Regions from separate parts of the Homo sapiens genome. Here all the other regions are linked to region 1. The links are contacts of gene promoters, found by promoter capture Hi-C in blood cells and fetal thymus (Javierre and others, 2016). All regions are on one chromosome and are shown on one strand. Each heading gives the region's core, a stretch centred on a gene start or on the middle of the fragment in contact. The rest is flanking DNA. Distances are from core to core; before and after follow the strand shown.

What was found. The method cuts DNA at HindIII sites, captures the fragments that hold promoters and counts their contacts. A CHiCAGO score of 5 or more calls a contact.
Region 2: a contact is called between a fragment that was not itself captured here and the fragment with the promoter of C12orf56 in region 1, in 1 of 17 cell types (non-activated CD4 T cells). The highest score is 5.4, in non-activated CD4 T cells.
Region 3: a contact is called between a fragment that was not itself captured here and the fragment with the promoter of C12orf56 in region 1, in 1 of 17 cell types (M2 macrophages). The highest score is 6.8, in M2 macrophages.
Region 4: a contact is called between the fragment with the promoter of AVPR1A here and the fragment with the promoter of C12orf56 in region 1, in 1 of 17 cell types (M2 macrophages). The highest score is 5.8, in M2 macrophages.
Region 5: a contact is called between a fragment that was not itself captured here and the fragment with the promoter of C12orf56 in region 1, in 1 of 17 cell types (total B cells). The highest score is 5.6, in total B cells.
Region 6: a contact is called between a fragment that was not itself captured here and the fragment with the promoter of C12orf56 in region 1, in 1 of 17 cell types (activated CD4 T cells). The highest score is 8.7, in activated CD4 T cells.
Region 7: a fragment that was not itself captured here is called in contact with the fragment with the promoter of C12orf56 in region 1 in 2 of 17 cell types (non-activated CD4 T cells and activated CD4 T cells); the score reaches 5.3 in non-activated CD4 T cells.

What each region holds. Positions count from the first base shown.
Region 1 is chr12:64,389,444-64,392,166 of GRCh38, forward strand. C12orf56 (chromosome 12 open reading frame 56) reads right to left here and starts at 1,315. Exons shown (of 13, transcript NM_001170633.2): 1 at 871-1,315. The coding sequence starts at 1,122. The HindIII fragment of the contact is 6,871 bases long and covers 1-2,723 here.
Region 2 is chr12:66,154,826-66,157,525 of GRCh38, forward strand. All of the region lies in intron 1 of TMBIM4 (transmembrane BAX inhibitor motif containing 4), which reads right to left. Among named protein-coding and RNA genes, the nearest start is that of TMBIM4, 14 kb to the right of the region's middle. The HindIII fragment of the contact is 5,078 bases long and covers 1-2,700 here.
Region 3 is chr12:63,092,291-63,095,169 of GRCh38, forward strand. No RefSeq gene overlaps it. Among named protein-coding and RNA genes, the nearest start is that of AVPR1A, 57 kb to the right of the region's middle. The HindIII fragment of the contact is 502 bases long and covers 1,298-1,799 here.
Region 4 is chr12:63,149,873-63,152,572 of GRCh38, forward strand. AVPR1A (arginine vasopressin receptor 1A) reads right to left here and starts at 1,329. Exons shown (of 2, transcript NM_000706.5): 1 at 1-1,329. The coding sequence starts at 964. The HindIII fragment of the contact is 3,248 bases long and covers 1-1,536 here.
Region 5 is chr12:66,111,216-66,113,915 of GRCh38, forward strand. No RefSeq gene overlaps it. Among named protein-coding and RNA genes, the nearest start is that of LLPH, 18 kb to the right of the region's middle. The HindIII fragment of the contact is 1,421 bases long and covers 585-2,005 here.
Region 6 is chr12:66,302,352-66,305,127 of GRCh38, forward strand. It overlaps HELB (DNA helicase B), which reads left to right and starts at 142. Exons shown (of 13, transcript NM_001370285.1): 1 at 142-439; 2 at 2,380-2,776. The coding sequence starts at 253. RefSeq lists enhancers at 212-261, 322-401, 1,033-1,132, 1,163-1,472. The HindIII fragment of the contact is 1,108 bases long and covers 697-1,804 here.
Region 7 is chr12:66,172,387-66,175,214 of GRCh38, forward strand. No RefSeq gene overlaps it. Among named protein-coding and RNA genes, the nearest start is that of TMBIM4, 3.8 kb to the left of the region's middle. RefSeq lists silencers at 590-790, 2,438-2,640. The HindIII fragment of the contact is 4,498 bases long and covers 1-2,828 here.

The DNA.
Region 1 (2,723 bases), core at 65-2,564:
GTGCGCATCTCATTAACGCATCTGCTTATTCATGCATTTATTCTTTTGCTGGGGAGGGGGTGGAGGGGAACGGTGTCTCACTCATTCTGTAGCTCAGGCTGGAGTGCAGGTGGGGCGATCTCGGCTCACGGCAACCTCCGCCTCCCAGGTTCAAGCGATTCTTGTGCCTCAGCCTCCCAAGTAGTTGGGATTACAGGTGCACACGACCACGCCTGGGTAATTTTTGTACTTTTGGTGGAGACGGCGTTTCACCATGTTGGCCAGCCTGGTCTCGAACCCCTGACCCCCGGTGATCTATCCACCTTGGCCTCCCAAAGTGTAAGGATTATAGGCGTGATCCACGGCACCCGGCCTTATGCATTTATTCTTATTGAGCATCTAACATGCTCTAAGCATCGGGGGCAAAAAAGTAAATGAGATATAACAGCACTTAACACACAGCATTTATTTGCACGGGTGTTGGCTTTCTAGCCCTCCAGCGACTGCTTCTAGGTAGGGGCCCTCTTTCGTTTTTGCATCCTCCGAGTCTAGCACAGTGCCTGGCACTGACTAGGTGCTTTGTTAACAAAGGAATGACTTTAAAAGGTATTTTTGATAGGGAGCTCGGTTCTCAAACCTGTAGCCCTACGTGGGGTAGGGGAGGCGGGAGAATGGGTGAACAGGCAGACACGAGGAGAATGGGAGACGTGTTTGTATTAGGAGTGCTCACAGCAATCCACAGCTTCCCTGTGTTCCTCGTTCTCAAATAAGAGGAGGGGAGTCGAGGGCAGGATGGGGCAGCCCTCCCCGCGCAGGAGGGCTGGGTTTGGGGGCCCCAGCCGGGAGTTCTCACTGCGCTCCCGAGCCCGCCTGCCCACCCGCGCCGCTCACCAGGTCAATGGCCACGACGTCCCGCAGAGCCACTACCCGCCGGATGGACTTGGGCGGGTTCTCGGTTAGGTAGACGAGCCGGTCGCTTAGCACCACATACTTGAGGATGTGGTTCTCAGAGTTGGACACCACGATGCATGGCTCGTAGGCGCGGACCGCGTCGTAGACCTCGGGCGGCAGATGCCGCCGCAGGAACACATCCAGGCGGCTGTTCCTGCGCGCGGGGAAGCCGGACGGCAAGGGGCTGGCCATGCCCGGCGCCCGCAGCGTGGCGGAGTGCTGGGACTCGAGGCCCTCAGCTCGCCCTCTCCCCGCCCCCGCGCTGGAACCCGCGCGCCACAAAGCCGCCGGCCACGCGTCGCCTCCTCTCCAGGCGCGGGGACCCGGGCCGCAACTGCAGGAATCGACGCTAGGTCGGCTTCCCTGGAGCGCCCTCCCCAGCCCTGTCCAGCCTCTCGATCTTTGTCCTAACCTCAGACGGCGATGGGCGGGGCAAGACGCTGGTCCTTCAGGCCCGAGTTGATGGGCACCTCGGGCTCATCACCGTGAAGTCCCCTGCGGCCGAAGGGCGGTGGATTTTTAGGGTCTCTCCCGCCCACCCCTAATGCCAGTCCCCACCACTGCGTACTCTGTTGCGGATCACACCATCCAATACAAACTTTATTGGTAATGGAAGCCAGCTTCAATCTGGTTTCCTGTTAGAAACTTGAAAGAGTTTAATTTACCGATTTATTTTTAACAACCCTAGAAACCTATTAAACCCAATCACACAGATTTAGCTTTTGGTTATAACATGGCCTGGCACAGCTTTCTGATATTGTCGGAGTGTAAACATAGGTCTTCTTTCTCCAACCAGTGAGAAAGGGATTTTTTTTTTCTTTTCTCTTTTTTTTTTTGAGACGCAGCTTTGCTCTTGTTGCCCAGGCTGGAGTGCAATGGCGCCATCTCGGCTCACCGCAACCTCCCCCTCCCGGGTTCAAGCGATTCTCCTACCTCAGCCTCCTGAGTAGCTGGAATTACAGGCATGCGCCACCACGCCCAGCTAATTTTGTATATTTTAGTAAAAACGGGGTTTCTCCATGTTGGTCAAGCTGATCTCCAACTCCCGACCTCAGGTAATCCGCCCGCCTCGGCCTCCCAAAGTGCTGGGATTACAGGCGTTAAGTCACCTCGCCCAGCCTTTGAGAAAGGGATTCTTCACATGAATTGATGTGAGCACACCCAAACCAACCTAAGGCATATGGTTTTGTTTCCAATGCCCAGGACAATCTATGCAGGAAGAATGAATGGGTGATGCTGGCATCTTGAAAAGTTGAAGCTGATAGACTGAAGAATGCGGATTACATACCCTGAGGCTGCAGAGGAGTAAGTATTCCTTAGTTTTTACAGGCCAAGAATAACTTACTAATTAGGTTAGAGAAATGAGAAGGGCACAACAGAAATGCTCTAAGTCAGAAGTTCCATTTTTTATTTCGAATCCTAGAAAAGTTATTCTCTTCCCCTCCCCATTGACCCAAAAACCTGATAATGAAACCATATCGTTCATTGCTGTGGCTGCCAGCAACCCTGAATCAAATTTGATATATTCTTTATATTCTCCCTTTCTACATATTTTATTATTGTATACTGTATGTTATAAGCAACTTCAAATCCCTTGTGGAAAGAAGGTATAAATATATTACAATCCATAAACAGATATTGTAGACTACACTAGTACAAAGGGAAAGAGAAATGTTTTGGTCTGGCTAAACTTTTTTTTTTTTTTTTTTTTTGAGACAGAGTCTCCCTCTGTCACCCAGGCTGGAGTGCAGTGGCATGATATCGGCTCACTGCAGCCTCTGCCTCCTGGGTTC
Region 2 (2,700 bases), core at 70-2,569, 1.8 Mb after region 1:
TTTAATAATCAAAATGCCTAAATATTAAACTTAATTTTTCCCTCTGGCACTCTTTCCAAAATCTAGAGTGAGTTTTTCCTGATGTCCTAAACAGATTTTACTGGGCATATGATTTAACCACTGACTCATAAGAACACTGAGTGTCCATTGTATTTTGGCTTAGAGATAAACAGTTCTCAACTCCACAACAGATCTATGACTTACTTTCTCAAAAAGGCCCTGATGTCTGAATGCTTTGGGAGGTCATTTCTATCTTTTTCATAAAAGCAGAGTAAAGAATATACTACTGGCATGGACAATGTTATTTGGGATATCTTTCTGCAAATTTAATTATTAAACCAAAGGTCAAGCCATTACACCTGCAAGGGATTTTCTGGGCTATGAGAAAAAAAATCATATTCTTTACACTACAGCCTCCATGTCCTGGATTCAAGCCATCCTCTAGACTCAGCCTCCCAAGCAGCTGGGAATACAGGCCCACACCAGGATGGGGTGTGTGTGCACACGTGTGAGAGAGAGAGAGAGAGAGAGAGAGGCAGGGTCTCACTCTGTCACCCAGGCTTAAGTGCAGTGGCATGATCATGATTCACTGCAGCCCCAATCTCCAGGGCTCAAGCAATTCTCCTAACTCAGCCTGCCCAGTAGCTAGTACTACAGGTGCATGCCACTACGCCCAGCTAATTTTTTTGTAGAGATGGGGTTTTACCACATTCCCGGGCTGGTCTTGAACCCCTGGGCTCAAGTGATCCACCCACCTTGGCCTCCCAAAGTGTTGGGATTACAGGCAGGAGCCACCGTGACTGGCCCTGGAATGTATTCTTTACTTTTGATACCCTATTATGTACCTCATATAACTCAAACCCAATCCATATGATATATATTCTCTCAAGCAGTGGAAATTAGTGTTATTTCTTACCATTTTGTAAAACTGATTTACAGTTCAAAACAATGTGCACATTAAGATCTAATGTTTATTTGTATATATGTACACAAGTGCATATGTAATAAAAGACTAGAATAATATACATCCAGGTGTTCGTATACCCTGGGCAGTAGTACTAAGGATAATTTTCATATTCAGTTCTTTACTAATCTGTATTTTTTAGATACCAGCAGTATGTATTACTATTGCAATTAAAAACATTTTAAAGAAACTCGTGCTAAGCCTTTAAGTTCATACTAAAAAATTCTCCTTATGCAGATATTCCAGACCATAACTTTTTCTATACTTTAGTATCATAAGCCAAATCCCAGGCAAAAGCAGTATTGACACCCATTGTGAATAATATAAAAAGTAGCAAAGGACATGCATATACAGCTTTCAGGAAAATATAAAAGATTCAATATGAAAAGAATACTAGTCAAACAGCAAGATTTTCCAATTTTTGTTGAGTCCTGATTTCTTCCCTTCTATTTGACATCTCAAAACTTAACATGGCCAAAACTGGAGCTCTTCATTTATCCAAATTTGCTGTTCTCCCAGTGTTCTCATCGATAACCAGCACCAACATCATCCAAGCCAAAAACATAGAAGTCATCTTTGATTACCCCCTCCCTGTTCCCAATCTATCAGCAACTACTGTAGTTCTACCTTTGAAAGTACAACGTATCTGCCTCTTTTGGTCTCCTCTGTTACCTCCCTAGTCAAAGTGTGCCTAATCTCTCACCTGGACCACTGGAGGAACCTTCTGATTGGTCCCCATGCTTTCACTCTTGTCCCACCTATTTCTCCACACACTCTGTCAAAGTGATTTTTATGTAAAGTAAACCATATCATGTGACTCTGCTTAAATACTTAAATAATCGTTCCACTTAAAATAAAATGTGAAAGATTTTATAGGACCTACAAGGTCCCACATGATGTAGAACCTTTCCAATCTCATCTCAGCACTCTCTCTCTTCCTCACCATGCTTTACCCACATTAGTCACTTTCCCGCTTCAGGGCCTTTGCACTTGCTCTTTCCTCTACTTGGAATGCCCTTATCATTCTTTACATGAAGTAGTGGTTTATGGTAAGTCACAGTTCTTTGACACTCCCTTCAAGTGAGTCCTAACAAAAAGAATGATGCAAAAGTGGCAGGGTGCTACTTCTAAGACCAAGTCATAAAAGGGATTATGGCTTCCTCCTGCTCTTTCTTGGATCATTTCCTCTGGGACAGTGTTTCTCAACCTTGTTTTCATTATTCCCCGCCTAAGTAGCCTTCTAGGTACTTTTTTCCTAATAGCCCCCTCAATAAAATTTTAATGCCACAAATATACTATATATCTGTTGTACCATCGCCCTTTGGAAGGATATACACCATTATAAAATCTTAAGATTTTTTTTAGATCTTTACATCCAACTATCATCTAATGGGGTCAATAGCACCCCATTAAGAATGCATACTCAGGGAAGGCCAGCTATGTTGTGAGGAAACTAAGGGCACCCTATGGAAAAACACATGTGGGAGGAAAGTGAGGTCTCCTGCCAACAGCCAGTGAGAAACTAGGGACTCCTATGAATAGCCCTGTGAGTAGCCTGCCTGGGAGCACATCCTTCACCCCCAGTCAAGCCTCCAGATGACCAGCACTAGCCAATATCTTGACCACAACCTAGGACAAACTCTAAACTAAAACTACCCATATTCCTGACTCTCAGAAACTGAGATAATGTTTATTCTTTTAAACCAATAAGGTTTAGGGTAATTTGTGACACAAAC
Region 3 (2,879 bases), core at 299-2,798, 1.3 Mb before region 1:
AAAAAGAAATTTCCTGTATTTACGGATGGTGAATTAGTTAATAAACTAGAATTCAAATTGCAGGTCTTCTGACCACGGATTGTGATCAACAGAACGTAATATTACAAGTTAAAATGCTGAAGCCTCCTGATAAGGAGCTGGTAAAATATACAACACAGTCTTCAGAAGACTGCTGGGAAAAGACTTGTTGAATGATAATAAAAACTCAGGAGACAAGGCCTTGTCTCCTGAGTTTTGATTCTACTTGACTCTGGGAAGAAAGTATGTTTGAAATGTGGAAAACAGTCAGGACTTGAATTTCAGAAGGCTGCATCATAGCATATTACAGCAGAAAATTAACTCTGAAGGAATTACAATGTGGAAATAAAATTAAGAGAGAGGCACTGAAGATGAGGATGCTGAAATGATCTTGACTTCAGGGAATGGCATGCCTTTGAATTCAACAACCAGTAGTCACACTGAAATATTAACAATCATTCTTCACAGTGTGCACTTATGGGGCAGGATGTAGAACTGCATTATTCTCTCTGAAATGACTCCACCCCATTCTCTTAAAGTAGTAATACTGTTATGGAGTAATGGGAGCTAGGTGACTTTCAGTTACATTTACTTTCAGAAAGTAAATGGTGGACTTATAGGAAATTAGCTGATAAAAGTTCATGAAACAACACACTCATCAGGGACATGCTGAGTGCTGATACTCTGTGGGCAATCCCCAACTGTGGGTGAAGTTGACCTGTTACCTATGCAACATCAATTTTTTTTTCCTTCCACCTTCTAACAGTACCCAAACTTCTCTTTGGGACATCACTGTTCTCCCTACTGTGTAGTAGCCCTATAATTCTGCTGCATTGACCCACCTCCAGCTGCTTACCCCAGAAGGATACTCTCATCTTCCACGACACAAAAATTGGTTGAGGGAACCCAGGTCTGAGTCAATCAGTGCATGATATGACAATGACCACATGGGTGGCTCAATCTATGTGAAGCTCTAGGGCTTCGTGGATATGAAAAAGGAAGCAGGCAGTTCTGGTTGCTGTTGGCAGCCATCTTTTGATCATGAGAGCAGCTAGTTTGCAGACTAAGCCCATATAAGAAGGAGAGAGAGCCAAGAGAGCTGCAGACAAGTGGAGCCAGAGTCCTGATCAAACCAGATTCACTGCCTGCCTTTCCCAGGGAATTTCCAACTCCATGGTACAGCAGATCCCTTTTATAGTTTGCTAGTAGGTTTGTTTGTTAGGTCATTGGTTGGTTGCTTGTTTGCTTCGCTGAGGTAGGGGGATGAACAGAAGTGTAAAGCTTGGTTCTATGTCTTTACATTTACACAAGTATTAACTTTAGTTCTCTATCCTTAATTGTGGACTGACTGGGTTTTTTCCCTTACCGTTTTCTAGCAGGCAATACTATCAAGATAATTTTTTTTTCCTTTTTAATTTGTAGATATTTCATGCTGAAAAATCTGACATTCTTTTTCAGGGTCTATTGAGGGGAAAACAAGATGGCCCTTAATGCCTGAGAGAGCAGGGAGAAAGACTTTCAGACTGTAGGGAGGCCAGAGCTTCCTCTGATTCATTCCCCAACCACAATCCTGTTCCAAGGCTTCCCTAGACGTCAAGACATCATTTTATGTACATTATTAAGAGGTTGGTCCTTGAGCTTAAGACTTCTCCATCAGTGTGATTCAGACCAGTATAAAGATACCCGAGTAAGTGATGAAGTGGGTCTGTCATGAGCTTACATGCACAGAGGGCTGAGAGTCTTCTAGGGGAGATCTAATTCTCTGGGAAGTCCAGGAAACAAGCTTGATATAGTGAAGAAACCCATAATTTTTAGAGCAGAGACATGATTCAGAGCACAGCTCCATGTGGACTCACATGTAGTTCCTGAGATGGGAAAGAAAGGGCTGTGGGTAAGAAATGAAGGAAGCTAAAAAGGAAGAAAGGGGGAGGGGTGGGGATGGAAGGAAAGGAGAAAGAATGTGGCTGGGTGTGAGTGATCTTCAGGGGCTGAGATTCTGCTGCTTTTCCTGATGTAGCTGTGTCTCTAGCCTGGTCAGGGTAATGGTGAACCCAGAAGTGCTGACAATTAGTTAAAACAAACAAAAAAAGCAAACACCCCCAAACTCCATGATGATAAAATAAAAAGGAATCAGATAACAGCAGAAAATATTGCTAGAGACTACAGCAGAAATTGTAGCTAGAAATATCACCTAGAAGAAAGGCTGCAATTTCATATAAAATTACTGGTTCTTCAAACATTTACCAGGTATCAAAACTGCTCTCACTGGAAAAAATGTGGGAAAAAACTTTGTTCCCTTCTAGTGCAAAATGCTTGCAATGTAATGTTTTTGTAGAAGAATACCAGCTGTAGGTGATTTTTTTTCTTTTCTTTCTCTGTTTTTGTTTTTTTGAGATGGATCTCATTCTGTTGCACAGGCTGGAGTGCAGTGGCACAATCTCAGCTCGCTGCAACCTCCGCCTCCCAGGTTCAAGCGATTCTCCTACCTCAGCCTCCCAAGTAGCTGGGATTACAGGAGCCCACCACCGCGCCTGCCTAATTTTTGTATTTTTAGTAGAGATGGGGTTTCACCATGTTGGCCAGGCTGGTTTTGAATTCCTGGCCTCAGGTGATCTGTCCACCTTGGCCTTCCAAAGTGCTGGGATTATAGGCATGAGCCTCCACGCCCAGCAGGTGATTTTTCTTCAAAAGCAATTCTGGTGTCAAGGAAAAATAGATCCCAGAGGAAATTACCTTGGTGTGATGGTAGCCTCCAACTTTACTCCAGTCAAGCTATCCTAGATGTCACAGGACAGAAAGTCTCAAGGACTAAATTTAGATGCTCAAATCGCATGGCAGATTGGATCTATCTAGAACATTTA
Region 4 (2,700 bases), core at 79-2,578, 1.2 Mb before region 1:
AGACGGACATGGGATCCCAGACAGACCACATCTGGATGATGAAGAAAGGCGCCCAGCAGACGATGTAAGCCGTCACGATCACAAAAGTCATCTTCACCGTGCGGATCTTGGCCCGGGAAATGGACTTCACGCTGCTGACACAGGGTGCGAGCAGGAACCCCTTTTGGAAGGCCACACCCGCTTGCTCTGCACCCTTGCTCTGGCGCGACGCCGTCTTCCCGCGGACGTTGCACCAGATGTTGTAGCAGATGAAGCCGTAGCAGGTACCCAAGATGACCACGGGCGCCACAAAGATGCCGCCCGTCATCCAGGTCACGTAGGCACGAGAACCCCAGGGCTGGATGAAGGTGGCCCAGCAGTCGCGGGCCTTGGTGACATTGTTCACCTCGATCATGGAGAAGACGAAGTACTGCGGCGTGCTCAGCACGAAGCTCAGCACCCAGGCGGCCGCGATCATGAGGCGCGAGCGGCGCGCGGGCTGTTGCAGAGTCTTGAGCGGGTGGCACACCGCGATGTAGCGGTCGGCTGTCATGACTACCAGCATGTAGGCCGACGCAAACATGCCGAACACCTGCAGGTGCTTCACCACGCGGCACAGCCAGTCGGGGCCGCGGAAGCGGTAGGTGATGTCCCAGCACATTTGCGGCAGCACCTGGAAGAATGCCACGGCCAGGTCGGCCAGGCTGAGGTGTCGGATGAAGAGGTGCATGCGGGACGTCTTGCGCGGCGTCCGGTGCAGAGCCAGCAGTACGCTGCTGTTGCCCAGCACGGCCACCGCGAAAGTCACCGCCAGCACGGCGATCTCCAGTTTGGCCAGCTCCTCGTTGCGCACGTCCCTCGGTGGGCCGTTGCCCTCCCCGAGGGCTTCGGCCTCCCGGCTTGTGTTGCCAGCGCCGGTGGCCAGAGGCCACCATGGGCTGGAGTTGCCCGAGGGCCCCGCGTCGGGACCGGCGGAGAGACGCATGCTGTCCATGCAGCTCCTACTCGGCCCTCTTCGGAGCTCCAGCCCTCGCGGGCCGCTCCCTCCCCGTCTCGGAGGACTTGGGCTCCTCGTCCGAAGCGCAGGGTCTTTGGCGCGCTCGCAGCTTGCCGGGCTCTGCGATCCCTCCAGTGGGCGTCTCCCGGAGCAGCGTCCCGCCTGCCCACTGAGCAGCTCTCAGCAGGGTGAGCTGGCCCCTCTCCCTGCTCTGCCTTTTTTCAACTTCGGCGAGGTCGGGAAGGTGAGCTCCGAGCTTCCGGAAGCACTGGGTTCCCAACTCAAGTATTTATGCGGTGCTTGTTTCCTTGGGACGCGCTCCCTCCCGCCCTATTGCCGGAAGACTGCTGGTTGCCTACTCCCCGCTCCCTGGAGTTTTATTTTTTCCTCTCCCTACGTCGGTGTTTGTCCTCTGCATCACTGTGGAGGGGGTGGAGCTGGGAGACTCGCAGATTCCTCCTCACAGTAGGTGGGATCGTGGCGCTTTCCCGCTTTTCCCTTCCAAAAACTTGGACAACTGGACGAGTCATGCCTTTTCTGGGCTCGTAGCCGTTTCCACAAGCTTCCCTCACTAGCCTTCCTCGCTAGCCTCCTTAACCATGCATTTGACTTCAACAGGCACGCTAAGCGCGGTACCTGGAAACCTCCAGTCCACGCACCGGCGTCCACGCATCTAGCTCCTGCACCTGAACCTGGCTCTCGACCTCACCTCCTCCAGTCCGGGTTTCTTCCTTCTCACCGAGCTCACCCGTGCAGCAGTCTGGCAAATTTTATTCCCCAGGCAAATTTTCCCGGGGCAAACATTTCTCCCCGCTCGTGACTTAAAGAGCTATCTCTTCCTAGTAACGTCTTTGATGCATGCTATTTATTACCCTATGTTTGCGACGGGAAGAACGCACTCATCACTTTGCAGCCCCAGTGGCTGCTGTGCCTGTATTCACAGCGGGGTTTGGGGGGAGTGTCTCCTGGTTTTCTCTATGGAGACTAGGGACTTAAGGAGTTTTCTCTAGATTCCTGGGGTTTTCTGCGGGAAAAGCCTGATTCCCACAGCGGGGATGGCGGAAATTTGGCCGCAGTGGTCCGTGGGGACCGTCTGGTTACTACTGAGTCGTGGGGACATCTTTTTGGGTGGACAAAGAGCAGCTGCCGGACAGCGGCCATCCAGGCAGTGCTGTCCAGGGCAAGGGACAGAAAACCCGCCCGGCTCCTGTGCTCAGGAGTAAGAAAGAGGCAATCTCAAAGAGAGGAAAGAGGCCCTGGGAAGGAGGGGAAACAACCACCTACCTAGTAATCCGTTACTCTGAACAGCTGGAGCCCCTCTGCAGGGCGGGAGGGAGGCAGAAATGCGATCTCCCTCAGCTCTGTTTTAACGTTGGTGAAGATATGCCTCGACGGACAGCAAGGGGGAGCTGTTTTCAGGCAATTTTACAAGGAAGAAAGGAAGCCGTTTCTGCAGTTATCTGCTGTGTAGATGCAGGAGCATGACTTTGTTGGTCAGAACGTTTCAGTATTGTGGCCGTGGTATAAATTTAATTGCCTCAGAAAAATATCACCCTCTGTGAAACGTAGGCAAAAAATGCAAAAGATTTTATTCATTGCAGTTCTCAGTAATAATTCCACTTTACTATCCAGTCCGTTCATGCAGAGTTACCAAGGTTGTCACGTTGAGATGCTGGACTTGAAATCTGGAGTCCTGCTTCCTGTGGCTAGATAATCCTGGGTCT
Region 5 (2,700 bases), core at 45-2,544, 1.7 Mb after region 1:
AGACTAGGGGTGGAGGGAGGGGAGAATGGGGGGTAATTGTTTAATGGGTGCAGAGTTTCTGTTTGAAATGATAAAAAATTCTGGAAACAGTAGTGACAGTGGTGATGATTGCACCACGCTGTGAAGGTACTTAATGCCACTGAATTGCACACTTAGAAATCGTTAAAAAGATAAATGTTTATGTTTGTATATTTTACCACAATAAAATATCTACTGTTTTCTCTCAGGAAAAAGCAGTAGAAGCCAAGATGCCCTGGCAGTGACAGCCATGGAGTGTGTGAGGAAAAGAGATTACAGAGCGTAAGTGGCATGGGTTTACCTAAGGCAGTTTCCTCCCAGGGCCGGTCAGTGTGTGTCAAACAAAAGGGACTGTCTAGCTAGAGATCACTTTAGAAGTGTCTGACCCATCTAAAGGCAACAATCTCATCAAAAAAACAAAGCAGAACACTGTACAAAGTCTCTCCAGGGCAAGGGTACCAATTTGTCACTCCTGGTATTAGACATCAATATAATGTTAGACCTGCCAGATTGCAGTGGTTGTGAAATCAACTGGAAGTGAAGAAATGGAAGAGAGTATGCTAAGAAGCTTCAATTTGGTCTTGCAGCCATGGGAAGTTTCCTAGCAGGAGAATGACTTACTGAAAGGAATGTTTTAAAAGGCTTAAATTTTACAACCCTTCAAGGGTACCCCAGACAAGCACTCACTCACTCCTGGAAGGATTACTAATTGTTTCAGCCTTTCAGGAGAGCAGTTTGGCAATACAGATAAGGAGTCTTAAAGAAAAGTTCATACTCTTCTAGAACCCTTCCTCAAGAATATAATCAGATAAGGATTAGACTTACATGTAAGGTCATTAATATTACAGAGAAGTATTTTAATAGCAAAAATAAAAAGTTTTTTCAGAAAAAAATTAAATGTCCAAAAGTAGACAAATAAAAAAATATATAGTTTATCACAAGACAGAATGAGGGAACTTTTCAAACAACACTCTTAAAAAATTTCCAGCAGCATGGGAAAAAAATCCCCATGATATAAAGTTAAGAAAGCAGAATATAAAATTATACAGTATTAAGACAATTATGAAAATATACACAGAGCTACACATTCTCTGGGTGGTTGGATTATGAATTATTTATTTCATTTATACTTTCTTGGGTTTTAAAATTTTCTCCAACATACATGTGTTACTTTTATGAGAAAAAACAACAAAAGTTATGGAAAGAAAAAGAAGTTGACAACCACACAAGATGAATTAGAAGGGAAAGAGTAGAGACAAAAACAAAAAAAATCTGGCCTTTGATGGAGGGCATGGGGGAGGGGGGAAGTTTGTTACTGCTGTTTTGTTTTGTTTCAAGTAAAAGATGTTATACTACCTGTGGAACAAAGAGGCACAGCCACCAATGGGAAAGGATTGGTTATTAACTACGGCAGAAACAGACCTACAGAAAAGATCACTAGTCACACACCATAGCTTTATTTAACAACCCCTCTTTTATAGAAAAGAATACAATTAATTTTGACATTAGTCCAAATGTTATTATTTGTGTGGTTAATTGTCACCTATTTATGGTTTTGAAAAAGATTGGTCTGTGAATACAAAGACTCTTGGGCTCCTGGTCTCTGCCATGAACTACTAACCTCTTGGGGAAATTGGCCTCAGTTTCCTCATCTGTTAAGAAGCACAAGTTAAAATAGATGATCTCTAAAACGTTTTCCAGCCTTAAATGCTATGACTATTTTAGTCCATATTAATTTCCTATTAATGAAACCAACCTGTAAGTGTATTTTCAGCTAGACCACCCACCAAATCAAACTAAATTGGAATGTCTTTACATGTGCCAGTATTCTAGGTGCCATATTAAATTAAAACAGAGTTCTTTCTCCAGCATTTAACATTTTCAAAAATTGTTTGTAGACTTAAGGGAAAAGTGAGTTATGAGATTTGTGAAAAAAGCTCTACAATGGGACAATCTTTTTTTTTTTTTAAGTCCAAAGACTAAAAGAAGCTTAGTTGAGGTGGCAGATGGGGAACACACCTAAACATACAAACAACCTTTTGGTACCACCTGCCTTGCATTGATACAGAGTGAGGGTAAGCTTGTCTATTTTTTTTTTTTTTAATACAACTGCCTTCCAATAAGAAACTTGGAGGGATTCTCCAAATATAAAATGCAACAGGATGGAAACATAAAACCAGATCCAACTCACCTGAATTTTCAAATAAAGAACAAAAGCCTTCATTTAACAAACAGAAAATATTTTATTTTTTTACTTTTCATTTTTCTTTTCAGTAGTGGTACTTCTTGCTATAGAAAATATTTTAAAGCAGCAGTCTGCAAACTTTTTCTTAAAAGGCCAAATTTTAATTTAGGCTTTGCTGATTATACAAGAATCTCTGTCACAACTATTCAGTTCTGCCTTTGTAGCACAAATTATTCACAGACAATTCATGGACATGTGGACATGGCTTTGTGCCAATAAAACTTTTTTACAAAAACAAAGGGCCAGCCCATTTGCATACTATCTTAGTCTATTTTCTGTTGCTATAACAGAATACCTGAGACTGGATAATTTATAAAGAAAAGTGATTTACTTAGCTCAGAGTTCTGGAGGCTGGAAAGTCCAAGATCAGGTTAGCGCATCTGGTGAGGGCCTCTTGCTGCTCCATAGCATGGCAGAAAAGAGGACGGGCAAGTGAG
Region 6 (2,776 bases), core at 1-2,500, 1.9 Mb after region 1:
ATCTCCCAGCCCCTCGCTCTCCCTTCCCCGCCCCTAACCCGCCTTGCCCCGCCCCTTCCACATGCCCTCCCCTCGGCAATTCCTGGAAACTTGGGGCGGAGCTTCGCTGCCTTTCAGGTTTTATGTACGCTGGCGGCCGCCAGGCCGTTCCCGGAAGTTGATGGCCTTACAGTCGTAGAACTGATTGGCTGATCATGACCATGCAGTTAGCCAGGGTTTTCCCGAGTTGTTTGGGTTGAGTTCAGGAGAAGCATGGCCAGGTCGAGTCCGTACCTGCGCCAACTTCAGGGACCTCTGCTCCCACCCAGGGATCTGGTGGAGGAGGACGACGACTACCTAAACGACGACGTGGAGGAGGATGAAGAGTCCGTGTTCATCGACGCCGAGGAGCTCTGCAGTGGGGGCGTAAAGGCTGGCAGCCTCCCCGGGTGCCTCCGCGGTGAGGAAGGCGTCTGCCCGGGGGATGGGGTTGGAGGGTCCAAAGTAGCGCTTCCCATTCTGGCTTTGCCCTGAGCAAGGCACCCAGTCGTGCTAACAGATTTAGCTTATCAGTGGTCTAGCTGCTTCATCCTACCAAGGGTAAAATTATGACTATAATAATAGCAGTGACTTTAACTGGACACATACTATGTGGTTTTTTTTTTTTTTTCTTTTTTTGAGCAGCAGCAAGATTTATTGCAAAGAGCGAAAGAACAAAGCTTCTACAGTGTGGAAGGGGACCCGAGCGGGTTGCCCTTTTTTTTTTTTTTTTTTTTTAAAATTATTCTCATTTTAATGGTCGTCCTTTAATTTAATGTACCTTTAATGTAAGGTAGTTTTACGCTTAAGGAAACAGTGGATGTTGAGTCTCTATTTCCACCCAGAATCGGAACTTTTATTTTTCCTTCTGACCACTTATCCTCAAGTTCTATAGAATGAGAACTTGTAATTATTATCCTATATTGCCTGGAGTCAAATACGTGGTTCTTCCTCAGCTTCTTGGAAAAACAAAACAGTCCGGGCGCGGTGGCTCACGCACTTTGGGAGGCCGAGGCAGGTGGATCACTTGAGGTCAGGAGTTCGAGACCAGCCTGACCAACATGGTGAAACCTGTCTCTAGTAAAACAACAACAACAACAACAAAACTACAAAATTAGCCGGGCGTGATGTCGCACACCTGTAATCCTAGCTACTTGGGAGGCCGAGGCAGGAGAATTGCTTGAACCCAGGAGGTGGGGGTTGCAGTGAGCTGAGATCACACCATTGCACTCCGGCCTGGGCAACAAGAATGAAACTCCATCTCAAAAAACGAAAAGGAAAGAAAAGAAAAAGAAAAACGAAACACAAGGAACACCTCAGTGCACAGATGATTGTTAATTGGTGTTAGTAACCTTGTGGTTCGGGTAAACCTTGTATAAGTAGTTTCCTGTGCTATGAGGTAGTTTCCTGTGCTATAAGTTATACCTGTTATGTATACTTTGTGACTGAGACTTAAAATATTTTAATGTGCCGACCGGTGCTGTTCAGTAGAACTTTCCATGATCATGGCAGTGTTTTATATCTGCACTGTCTGGTATAATAGCCACTAGCCATATGTAGCTGTTTAGAACTTGAAATCCAGCTAGTGTAACTGAGGAGAGAAATTTTAAGTTTTATTACATTTTAATTTAAATAGCCACGTGGGTGGACAGCGCAGATTTAGGCAGAAAAGTTTCAAGTATTTGTGGAGGGCTTAGTCGTCATTCTAAAGTATCATCAACTGGCTAGCATGTTTGGTGCTGGGAAAACCTAGAGAAATAAAATAACAAGGTTGCAGTCTTAATGAAGCTTACCCTCTAGTGTATTAAACAAACATTCTTTAATCACAGAAGTAACTATAATGTTACTAAATGCTTAGAAGGAATGCTAAATAGTGCTTTGAGAGGTTTTATACATGAGATTCAGGGAAGACTTTTCTAAGTAAGTGATAGTTAAGCTGAGGTCTGTAGTAAATGTAGTAAACAGTAAAGGGGAGATCAGTTAAGGCAGATGGAATAACTTGAGTGAAGGGCCATGGCATTTTAAAGAAACTGCATGAAGGCCAGTATTGGCTGAAGTCAAGAGTAGCAGAGAGGGGACTGATTTTAGAAGAGGAACAGCAGACACCTGCTGTGTACTGTGCTTGCGTTTTGGAATACAAAGACAAACGAAACAGTGTCCTGTTTTAGTATTTACAGTGTAGTGGAGGGAGACAGAAAAAGAGGTAGGCAGAATGCAGTGTTACAGGCACCCTACCAGACATCTTTAGAGAGTGCTGTAGGGAGATTAAAGATAGTGGTAAGTTTGATGAAACTTTGAGGAAACGGTTTCTAAATAATCTCCAGAGTTAACTTTTGTGGGTTTTTGTTTGTTTTTTTTTAGTTTCTATTTGTGATGAAAACACACAAGAGACATGTAAAGTGTTTGGACGTTTTCCGATAACAGGTGCTTGGTGGAGAGTGAAGGTACAAGTAAAGCCTGTGGTGGGATCAAGGAGCTATCAATATCAAGTTCAAGGATTTCCGTCTTACTTTTTGCAGTCTGATATGTCACCACCAAATCAAAAACATATCTGTGCTCTCTTTCTTAAAGAGTGTGAGGTCTCCAGTGATGATGTTAATAAATTTTTAACATGGGTAAAGGAGGTATCAAACTACAAAAACCTAAACTTTGAAAATCTTAGGGAAACACTAAGAACTTTCCACAAGGAAACTGGAAGGAAAGATCAAAAGCAGCCTACACAGAATGGTCAGGAAGAGTTGTTCCTAGACAATGAGAT
Region 7 (2,828 bases), core at 285-2,784, 1.8 Mb after region 1:
ATGGTGGTACATGCCTGTAATCCCAGCTACTCGGGAGGCTGAGGCAGGAGAATTGCTTGAGCCTGGGAGGTGGAGGTTGTGGTGAACCAAGATCGCGCCATTGCACTCTGGCTTGGGCAACAAGAGCGAAACTCCACCTCAAAAACAAAAAAAAAGAAGGAAAAAAGACTGAAACAGGAACCTAACACACACACACACACACAGCCAAGTGGCTAATATATGAAAAGTTGATCAGAGAAATGTAAATAAATGCCAAAATTAGATATCTCTAAGCACCCACCAAATGATTAAAATTAAGAGATTGATAATATCAAGTGTTGGCAAAACTGGATTATCTAGAACTCAAATAAGAGCTGACTTAAAAGGTGTGCAACCTATGCTATTGCACAGAGCCCTGGACTCCGAAGGACTCTGCACTTGGTTTAATGCTCAGCTGTCACCATTTTGAAATACTTAGTAATTTTGCCTTTGAACATGTGTTTTGTAAGTGAAGTCTGAAAGTACAATGGAACATGAACATGAATAGAAGAGGTATGCACAATGTGGATGTCCACTGTTTCCTGCCAATCATTTGCATTTAAGCATTTAGCATGCCCCATGAGCTCAGAATTCTGTTAGACCTGCAATGTTTGGGAGTTAAGCTAGACTCAAAGCTAGTAAAAGATAAGCATGTCACACTTGTGACTTAGTAAAGGGAAGAGAAGAGAAGGCACAGACAGCCCCAAGAGGCCTAGCTTTCCTTACCGAGGAGAACTTACTTTGAATGCAGAAGGAAAGCAATGACGTTTTAAGAAACATGAATGACCAAGGAATCTTTTCACATCCTTTTTTTTTTCTTAATAGGGTCTTGTTCTGTTGCCCAGGTTGGAGGGCAGTGGTGCAATCATAGCTCTCTGCAAACTCCTGGGCTTAAGGGCTCACCCCATCTTAGCATCCTTAGTAGCTAAGACTACAAATGCATGCCACCATGCCCAACTAATTTTTTTTTTCCGAGATGGAGTTTCCCTCTTGTCCAAACTAGAGTGCAATGGCGCAGGTCTCAGCTCACTGCAACCTCCGCCTCCCGGGTTCAAGCAATTCTCCTGCCTCAGCCTCCCAAGTACCTGGGATTATAGGCATCCGCCACCACTCCCGGCTAACTTTTTTGTATTTTTTGTAGAGACTGGGTTTCACCATGTTGGCCAGGCTGGTCTCAAGCTCCTGGCCTCAGGTTATCCGTCCACCTCAGCCTCCCAAGTGCTGGGATTACAGACGTGAGTCACCGTGCCCGGACCTAATTTCTTAAATTTTATGAGACAGGGTCTTGCTGTGTTTCCCAGGCTGGTCTTGAGCTCCTGGCCTCAAGCAATCCTCCAGCCTTGGCCTCACAAAGCTCTGGGATTACAGGCTGTCACATCCTTTTTTTTTTTTTTTTTTTTTTTTTTGAGATAGAGTGTTGCTCTATTGCCCGTCTGGAGTGCAGTGGCGCGATCTCGGCTCACTGCAACCTCCGCCTCCTGGGTTCAAGCGATTCCCCTGCCTCAGCCTCACGAATAGCTGGGACTACAGGCACCCGCCACCATGCCCGGCTAATTTTTTTGTATTTTAGTAGAGACGGAGTTTCACCATATTGGCCAGGATGGTCTTGATCTCCTGACCTCGTGATCTGCCCGCCTCTGTTCCCAAAGTGCTGGGATTACAGGCGTGAGCCGCCGTGCCCAGCCCACATAGTTTTTTACTTGTGTTCTTTCCCTGTAAATGTCAACCACTTACACTCAAAGACACGGAAGGAAAGGGAAAGATATGGCAATCATAGTTCCTTTTCTTTTCAGGTTATCCTTTGCAATAAGCTGAAGGTAGAGAGTGTTGATATAGTTTGCATGTATGAAGAAGTGAAATAAAAATAATTGATTTAATTTTGTGTGAATTTTCCACAGTTCTTATAAGAATGAAATAAATATGTACAAGCTATGAAATACAAATCGTGTCATTTTGGTGATTCCACATATGCATTAAACGCCCTTTTAAATTTGTATTTAAAACTATCATTGCCTCCCTCCTCCCTCGCCCTCACCTTTGGTCTCCCTCTGTTGCCGAGGCTGGACTGTGCTGCTGTGGTCTCGGCTCGCTGCAGCCTCCCTGCCCCAGGCTCCCGTGGTTCTCCTGCCTCGGCCTGCCAAGTGCCTGGGATTGCCGGTGCGCGCCACCACGCCTGACTGGTTTTTGTATTTTTGGAGGAGACGGGGTTTTGCCCTGTTGACCAGGCTGGTCTCCGGCTCCTGACCTCGAGTGGTCTGCCCGCCTCGGCCTCCCGGGGTGCTGGGATTGCAGACGGAGTCTCGCTCACTCAGTGCTCAGTGTTGCCCAAGCTGGAGTGCAGTGGCGTGATCTCCGCTCGCTGCAACCTCCACCTTCCAGCCGCCTGCCTTGGCCTCCCAAAGTGCTAAGATGACAGCCTCTGCCCGGCCGCCACCCCGTCTGGGAACTGGGGAGCATCTCTGCCTGGCCGCCCATCGTCTGGGATGTGGGGAGCCCCTCTGCCCGGCTGCCCCGTCTGGGAAGTGAGGAGCGCCTCTGCCTGGCGGCCCTTCGTCTGGGAGGTGGGGAGCGCCTCTGCCCGGCCGCCCCGTCTGGGAGGTGAGGGGCGTCTATGCCCGGCCGCCCCATCTGGGAGGTGAGGAGCGCCTCTGCCTGGCTGCCCATCGTCTGGGAGGTGAGGAGGGCCTCTGCCCGGCCGCCACCCCTTCTGGGAAGTGAGGTGCGCCTCTGCCTGGCCGGCCGCCCCGTCTGGGAATTGAGGAGCGCCTCTGCCCGGCCGCCTGGTCTGGGAAGTGTACCCAACAGCTCCG